Regions from separate parts of the Homo sapiens genome. Here regions 1 and 3 are each linked to region 2. Evidence: promoter capture Hi-C in 16 types of primary human blood cells and fetal thymus (Javierre and others, 2016). All regions are on one chromosome and are shown on one strand. The core of a region is centred on a gene start or on the middle of the fragment in contact, and the rest is flanking DNA. Distances in the headings are between cores, read along the strand shown. Region 1 overlaps COL1A2 (collagen type I alpha 2 chain). Region 2 holds the start of GNG11 (G protein subunit gamma 11). Region 3 has its middle 180 kb from the start of COL1A2-AS1.

Region 1 (2,700 bases), core at 14-2,513, 480 kb after region 2:
AGCAATTTTACAAACATCCTACGCTTTTTATTCTCCTTGACTTGAAGTCTGCTGAACCAACATTCAAAGCGGTTTTAGGTTTAATTTGCTTGAAACTAATTTGAGAAAAGTACATTTCCCTTTTTCATTAATATCTTCTTTTAGCTTCATGTCTTTAACAATGGTATGAGTGCCAAATGACCTCACTGCAGGAAGGAAAACATATTTGCTTAATTGGTTAGCACTATGAATCAGAAGCCTGATTCTAATACCCAACTGTATGTCAGTAAAATAAGACCTTTCTCCCCCAAAGATCTTATTATGATTGCTTATCTATGAATTGCATTAAAAAGCAGCTTCTTTAATAGAGCTACCACTATAAGAGAGATCTTTAACAGTAAAGTTATTACTGTGAACTAGTTTTTAGAAGTTTTATCTTCCAAGGGGTATTTTAATTTAATTTTCCTCTAAACTTGAAAACTCTTTATGCCCTTCCTGAAACTCCAGCAAGAAAAAGATCTCTTAGTCATTTTGTGTAGCTCCGGTGGGGAAGGGCAACAGGTGAAAATGTGAAGATGTCCTCTTGAGCTCTGTCTAATTTGTCAGGAGCCCTTAGTAACATTAAAAGTTTAGAAAGCTTCCCTTCCTCAGAGTAGAGGTAAAAGGTGGGAGTGGAGACACCGAGTTAAGGCAGAGGAAGGGCTCAAAAAGTAAAGTAGGGAAGTTCTCCATTTCAAAGAGGTGTCGGCCAAGTTTTTGACGTACAGCTCTCATAACTTTTTAGGAATTTAGTTCAATATAGAATTTTAAACTAATAATTATATCAAAAACATTGCCCTCTTTTAAATAACAACAGAAAAATATTTACAAGTAGAATGAGAAAATGAACTACATGACTAGTAACTAAAAATATTTTATATATATATATAATTTTTTTTTTTTACTTCTCTAGAACTTTGCTGCTCAGTATGATGGAAAAGGAGTTGGACTTGGCCCTGGACCAATGGTATGCTTATCTGTTTATCTTAGCCAAAAAAATTGCTAAATAAATCATTCATTTTATGTCACATTTTACCACGCCATTTATTTAGCTACCTAAGTTAACACTCAATACTTAGATTATATAAAAACAACTCTTTTTGTTTTCAAATTTATGAAAACATAAGTTAAGGAGTTCACTTTTCTTTACAAAAGAAAGATTAATTGATCTTTTATGATTATATGATCTTTTTGATTATATGATCCTCATTAAGATAGATCATATACTTATGTCCAAGAAATAATCTTTGGACATAGTAACCATAACTTGGGCAAATCAATTTAATTTAAAACAGTAATCACTCTGATTAATTTTTTAATATTCTTTAACATTGCTTAGAATTTTAAGCAACACTTAGAGGCATAGAACTATTTATTAAGTTCTCTGAACTTGTTGGAAAGGATCAACAAGTTCTATCTAGTCCAGCTAACTCATTTTAAAATGGGAGAGTTTAAGCCCTTTTCTCAAAGTCATCCAGGTAACTAATGACATAACTAGAACTAGATGCCAGGCAAGATGTCTAATATTTGCTTACATCATGGTTTATGTACCTAGTCCTTGAATAAACCACTCATTTAGTCAACAGATATTAATCAGATGCCTTCAATGGGCCCTAAACTGTATTAGGAACTGGGGAAATTACAAGGAATATGACAGATTCTGATCCTTCCTCAAGGAGTTAACAATATAGGAAATGTTTCTTTTTCTGAATTTTGACCAAAAAAATCCTTTTTTAGTCTATTGATTGTAAATCTATATAGAAGAGAGTATGAGTAAAAATCTAGCATTTATGTCACTCAGTACAAATATTCAGCACCATACCCTATCAGTGGAGCACCGCTTAGAAACATTCCCTATATGATGATGATGATGATGATGACTATTAACAAATGAAGCTTCTAACAAGCATTAGAGAGAAGTTTGAAGGGAAAAATGCTAATACGAGCATGCAAAATGTATACTAGCATATATGAAATAGAGGGGAAAACTGCCAGAAGTCAAAGTGTTAGGTTGATTAAGCACTACAGAATTTAATGTATACACACACACGCAATTTAGTGATTTTAATTAATTGTTTCAAAACAAAGGTATTTATCTGCCCAAAGTCAACAAGGTCTTTAAAATGTAAATTTTACCTGGGCAGTGCACTTAGTGCTCTATCTTCAAAAGAAGATGTTCTGCTGGAGCTAATGGCCCACAGTAAGCTAATATACTCTAAGGGTGAGATAATATTTTCTGTAAATTAAAACTCCCACTTGAGAAATAATGTACCTTTAATTGACGACTTCTAATTCCCTAATTTTTTCTGGTAGTTTAAAATGTTCATATCTGAAATGAAAAAGTAGAGTGTTTCTTTTGGCTTTGTTTATATTGGATTTTTGAAATTAGCTGTTTCAGCTAATGCTGGACATTAGTCAGTTTTAAAGCAGTACCTACATCTCAAGAAGAAGCAAGGGGGCGGAAAGTAAAGAGCTACTAAATGTCATTTTTAAAAAGCCCACTAAGCTGGGAAAATTAATATGGATTTCAGATACCCCTGTTTTCGGAACATCTGTCTTGGCATAAAGCAGAGTATTTTACTTTGAAATATCAGTGAAATATAATTTAAGCTTGCACATCCACACACATGCACAGACATATGTAATCAACAGATATCTGTTTCACAAATAGGGAAGATAGGC
Region 2 (2,700 bases), core at 169-2,668:
CCCTGCTTATTTACAAGTAAACTTCAGTAGATGCTCTAACTACTCTGAGCTTGGAAAACCCTGGTATTTCAAATATTGAAAGTGAAGCTCTTAAACATTTTCTTTGTGAAAATGATTTATCATATATAGACATACCAACACAATTAGAGACACAACATAGCTTAGCTGATTCACTACTTCCCTGCCTTACTATACATTTTACAAATTAGAAAACCAAAACTAAGAAAAATTAAATGACTTCTTCAGTGATGGCCTGTGGCAGAGCTGCAACTACACGCCAGGAGTATTCATTAAGTGGTTCATTGTTTTTTTCATTCTAATTTATTCATTGAGGTTGAGCGGAGCGTGGTAAGAAACTAGGAACGAACAAAAACTCCTGCTTCCTAAACAGGGAATGGTCATGGGTGTCTTGGGTCAGCTACTCTGAAATATTAAGTTAATATTTCACTTGCCTTTGACTCTGTGAGGCAGGAGGTTATCTCTGGAAAGAAAGAGAAATATCCAACTGCTAGGGAAGGTTTCTTACATTCATGTTTGATTTTTCTTCTACTCTTTTGACCACCATCAACAAGACTTTAGTTACAGTTAAAGGGAAAGTTTTATTGCATGTAAACTTTTTTCACATCGGACACTTTTCCTGGCTTTCCAGAGCAACAGCTAGATAAATAGTGCTTGCCAGAAAGTGGAGAAACTAATACTAAATGAATCCACTGCCTACATCCAGGAAGGTTCAGGAGCCAGGAATTCAAAATCCTTGGTGTCAAGTGTCACCCAAAACTTAGGGTTGGGGAGTGGAGAAAGGCTTTCGGTTAAGAACTCTAAGATTCCTGCTTCTGTCTTCTCTTATATCATCCTTTGATGCACCCCTCTACATAACATTCCCCCGGAAAAATAAAAAAAATACAAACTCTGCTGCTGTTGAGGATGCAGATGATTATTTAATAATAGAAAATGTTCTTGCAACTTGTAAACGATATTCACACCCTGTTGCCCCCTCCTCGCCCAAAATGTATAAACCCATATTAGGCCTCGAACAAGCCGGATGGACACAAATGAGCAGAACACTGGTGGGTATTTCTGGGATTAGGGCTAAGCTTCATTTTCTTTTCAGCCTTTTCTTAAGCGTCCGCATTCTCCACTATGCATTTATTACGTTGGTGCAAAACTAATTGCACCAACCTATATATGTAATTAGAGAAAAGTAATTACTTTTGCAACAACCTATGTATGTAATTAGGGAAAAGCTATATCTAGCATATTTTTAAAACTCTTTGAGAGGTGAAGGGTAGTTATTTCCTGCTGGGTAGTGTACTCCTTTTCCTAGCTTCACAAACAAAACCCGGATGTGACTTGGAAACGGAAAAAAAAAAAGGAGCGGGGGTGCGCGGAGAACACAAAGTAAAACTTCTGCTGTTCCCAGTCCTGCAGCCCCAGCCCAGCCGTCCCCCGCGGGCGTGGCAGGTCCTGAGTCAGGGCCTGTCCGTGGCCAGCATCCCTGCTGGGCGATTGAGCAGCGGGAAGCTGCTTGGACCCAGTCTCAAACTTAACCCTCATCTAGCACCCGGGCAGGCCTCCTGGGTTGCAGGGACTTGAGAAAAGGCAGAGTTCTCAGGTCCTAGGAAGCTGGGGCACGCTGGCGTGACAAGCGTCCCGGAGAAAGCCAAGCCCTCGGGGAGCTGGGGACCGCAGCAGGGCTGCAGTCACATCCTGCGCGGGTGGGCGGCGGGCCAGGCCTTCAGTTGTTTCGGGACGCGCCGAGCTTCGCCGCTCTTCCAGCGGCTCCGCTGCCAGAGCTAGCCCGAGCCCGGTTCTGGGGCGAAAATGCCTGCCCTTCACATCGAAGATTTGCCAGAGAAGGAAAAACTGAAAATGGAAGTTGAGCAGCTTCGCAAAGAAGTGAAGTTGCAGAGACAACAAGTAAGTTGGCTGTTCCGGAATATTTCCTTCTCTGAAATGAAGCAGGGTCCGATTTTTCCTGCTTAGTAACAGTAAAGCAAATAGTTTAGCTTATTTTTCCCCCTTTTTGTAGCTTCTCTTCTCACCACCCTTTGGCAGTGCCTGGGGACTGCCAGCTGATGTGGGGAAATCCTAGGAGGTAGAGGAGGGAGCAAGGATCTGATAAGTAATTTAAGGCCAAATGTCCTAACTTTTAAGATGCCTAGGAAGGGGAAAATAGACAAGAAATCTTGCTTTCCATTAGACAGCTGTTTTTCAAAACTCACTTGTAGGAAAAAAGCGGATAGCTACTTGGTTCTTTGATCTTTTACACTACTAGAAAGGATGATATTTGAAAGAAATTTTCTAAAACCGTATTTTAAAGTCTTACAAGTACATTATTTAATTTTGAATTTCACCAGTGGCCTTCAGTGATATGCAAAGAACAGTCCACCGAAATTTGGGAACAAAATATTAGAATTTCTATATTTATTTGTAAATCTCATCCCTTTATAATTTTCACTTTATGTTTTATTAGTATGCGATTAATACAGTAGTATCTGTACTTATTTATAAATAATTATACATACACTGTGGTGCATATGAAAAATTTTTTTAGTGATCACAATTTTAAAGTTTTAGAGACTATTGATAGAGATTACCATTTCATTGAGAACATATGACCCAGTATTCAATATTCTCCACTGAAACGTCTCGGGAGTTTTATAAGTTTTACTTCAATTTCTTACTGGTCATCAAGACCTT
Region 3 (2,700 bases), core at 173-2,672, 290 kb after region 2:
AGACTTCACTTGAGAGCTGTATTAGTTTAGCTCTAAGTTAAAGCTGCCACTGAATAATGCCTAAATATCTTGTGGTCAATCCTTTAGGGTATGTCTCATTCAAATGTGCTGCCTCCATGATTTTTGTGCACTGTGATTAAATTGTGAATTTGTTCTCTTTGACCTCTAGAAACTTTGGGAATTGTCTAAAAAGATTTTTGTTAAAATCAAGATTACATTAATAATAATTTATTATTAAATAATTAATCATCAAGGGACATTACTCTATGTAGATTAATTCCATGGAAAGAAAAGTAATGAGCTGTAAATACACAGAGGAAAAGCAAGATTATAGAAAGAAATATTAAATGTAGTAAATGCAAAAGAAAAAATGTGAGTATAGAAAATCCTCTGTGGAAAGGAAAGCTTGCACTGCGAGGGAAGACAAAAGGCAAAGGACTGAAGGACTTCTCCAACAAGGAATTACTGTAAACACTTTTAGAATATAAATGGAAACATACTCCAATTCTTGACTGATATTTGAAAGCTCCTAATTCAGGAAGGCAATTTTTTTTTCTGAGAAATTTCTCCAGGGATTGAAATTGCTCAATAAGAACATTTGTATATCCATTCTTGAAGCTTTGATTTCAAAAGTTAATATCTAGTCACCATATTGTGTAACTGTGAGGCAAGGAAAGAATTAGCCTTTAATGCTAATTACTTTCCTCCGATACTAGTATAACATTAATCTGGCAACTGGAATTCTCTTAAAGTTGGATATTTTAAATTTTAAATTTCCAATTTAAAATTGGAAACCCCTGTATATTTCTTGCAATTAAAATATTTAATATCATTTTGCTAATATTACTATGGAGTTATCAAAGTGATATCATTGTCAATGTTGCTCATTCCAAAGTGGAGTTACCAAACTAAACTTTCTAGAATCCTGCCAATATATCTGTGTGAAAACAGCTTTCCAAAGTGGGATTCCACTGAGTAGGATACATATAAGGAAGGAATTATGGTGAATGAGATGGGAAAAAGGAATATTTCAAATGTGATCAGTATGATGTAAAATACTTTGTGCCAAGAAGAATTTGATACTAGAAAAGTCAGAATACTTGGGATTGAGAGTACCTCTGCTGTTCTACAGAGATGGGAAATTTATTGGACCTCTCCAAATATCAGCTTCTCTTTTTGTAAAATGGGTTAGCACTACTTATCTCACAGGGTTATTATGAAGATTAGGTAAAATAATGTAGTTTAAAATGTTTTATAAGCTGTACAGCAGCTGTTGTTATTGTTGCCACTGTGTTGTTATTTGTATATGCTTTATCAATAGTCCTCATCCAGGGCTATACATAAACATCCATTGTGAAATATCTTCATAAATGCACATGCTTGGATTCAGTTTAAGTGTTGAAGGTGGGCTCAGTTATACCTATTTTGAAAAGCTATCCTGGCAATTTTGATCCTTGCTACGATCCATGGGGTTTATATTCTATTCTCAAGCCTCAGAATTTCTGGTCCCTAATGTTTACTACTACTGAGAACCAGAAGACCACAGGAAGGCATTCTTTCTCCTTCAGTCCCAGAACTCAATCAATGGTATTTCATATCTCCTAAGTTTCCAGTGAATTGCAGAAATATGGAATTTACTGTATGTAATGAGAATTTTAAATTTGGGGAACTTACAATTCAATAGTTTAAAGAATGTCAGGATTTTGCTCTCCTTCAAATCTCTAGCTTAACACCCATTTCAATTCTGTTACCTACCTAAGTTCTCAGAAAACCCAATCTCACAGTTTCTTTCTTTGGCAATGGTCTATCCTAGAATATTTGTCATCTTTTTCTCCATGTTTCTGTTGGAAGCATGGAAGCATCAGGGTATGGGGTTCTATTTGCTGGTTACCCCATGTGTCCACATTTCTCAAAAAGAGTTGAAAGTTGCCCCTAAACACCTCTACACACACACACACACACAATTGCCAACAAATTCATTCACTTCCATGTATCTCTAGAGTCCACATACAATATACCAGGCACTAAGCTCCACTCAGGGAATACGCATAATCCAATTTTTGCTGTTGAGGACTCCCTGTTGAGTAGAACCACCAGACAGAAAATATAAATGCCAGCAGTTGCAATTTTAGGTAGACATGCAATAAAAGGAAGATGAAACGTATCTTTATCTTAATTTAAGGCAGGGATTCAATAGTGTACCAACCATAAACAAAACCTCACACCAAAAGCTTTGGTGATTAGTATCAGTGGTATCAACTGAGAACTCTAACCCCTTTCAGGACTTATCTCTGTTTATTTTAACACCATTTATTATTCTTTCCAGAAAGTAAATTTCCTAATTGGTGTGATACTTCCCTACCAACCCCATTTGTGCCATTTATTCATATAGTAATCTTTTGCCTGGCTAACTCCTACCTATCGAAGCTCACCTCAAGAGTCCCCTTCTCCTCAATGTCTTTTGTAATCCACCACTGTTCCCTAAATTTAGGCAAAGCCACCTCTCCTTTGCTCCTTCTTGCTAAACACATAGTATGCTAGGGAAAACTGCCTCCCAGATGCAGTTTTCAAGGTGCCTACTTAATTCATAAACATGGAAAAAATCTTAATTACTTTAACTTATATTTCCAGAACTCTTTCTGCTTCCCTTCTGAAGAATTATCAAAGTTTCATATTTCTCATTGTTTGTCCCAGTTTTTA

The links. The method cuts DNA at HindIII sites, captures the fragments that hold promoters and counts their contacts. A CHiCAGO score of 5 or more calls a contact.
Region 1: a fragment that was not itself captured here is called in contact with the fragment with the promoter of GNG11 in region 2 in 1 of 17 cell types (naive B cells); the score reaches 5.1 in naive B cells.
Region 3: a contact is called between a fragment that was not itself captured here and the fragment with the promoter of GNG11 in region 2, in 1 of 17 cell types (endothelial precursors). The highest score is 5.1, in endothelial precursors.

Annotation. Positions count from the first base shown.
Region 1 is chr7:94,400,636-94,403,335 of GRCh38, forward strand. It overlaps COL1A2 (collagen type I alpha 2 chain), which reads left to right. Exons shown (of 52, transcript NM_000089.4): 6 at 932-985. Among named protein-coding and RNA genes, the nearest start is that of COL1A2, 7.1 kb to the left of the region's middle. The HindIII fragment of the contact is 1,298 bases long and covers 615-1,912 here.
Region 2 is chr7:93,920,317-93,923,016 of GRCh38, forward strand. GNG11 (G protein subunit gamma 11) reads left to right here and starts at 1,419. Exons shown (of 2, transcript NM_004126.4): 1 at 1,419-1,917. The coding sequence starts at 1,822. The region is part of intron 1 of LOC105375402 (a long non-coding RNA gene); the gene reads right to left. RefSeq lists an enhancer at 1,021-1,656. The HindIII fragment of the contact is 4,145 bases long and covers 1,093-2,700 here.
Region 3 is chr7:94,205,890-94,208,589 of GRCh38, forward strand. No RefSeq gene overlaps it. Among named protein-coding and RNA genes, the nearest start is that of COL1A2-AS1, 180 kb to the right of the region's middle. The HindIII fragment of the contact is 1,613 bases long and covers 617-2,229 here.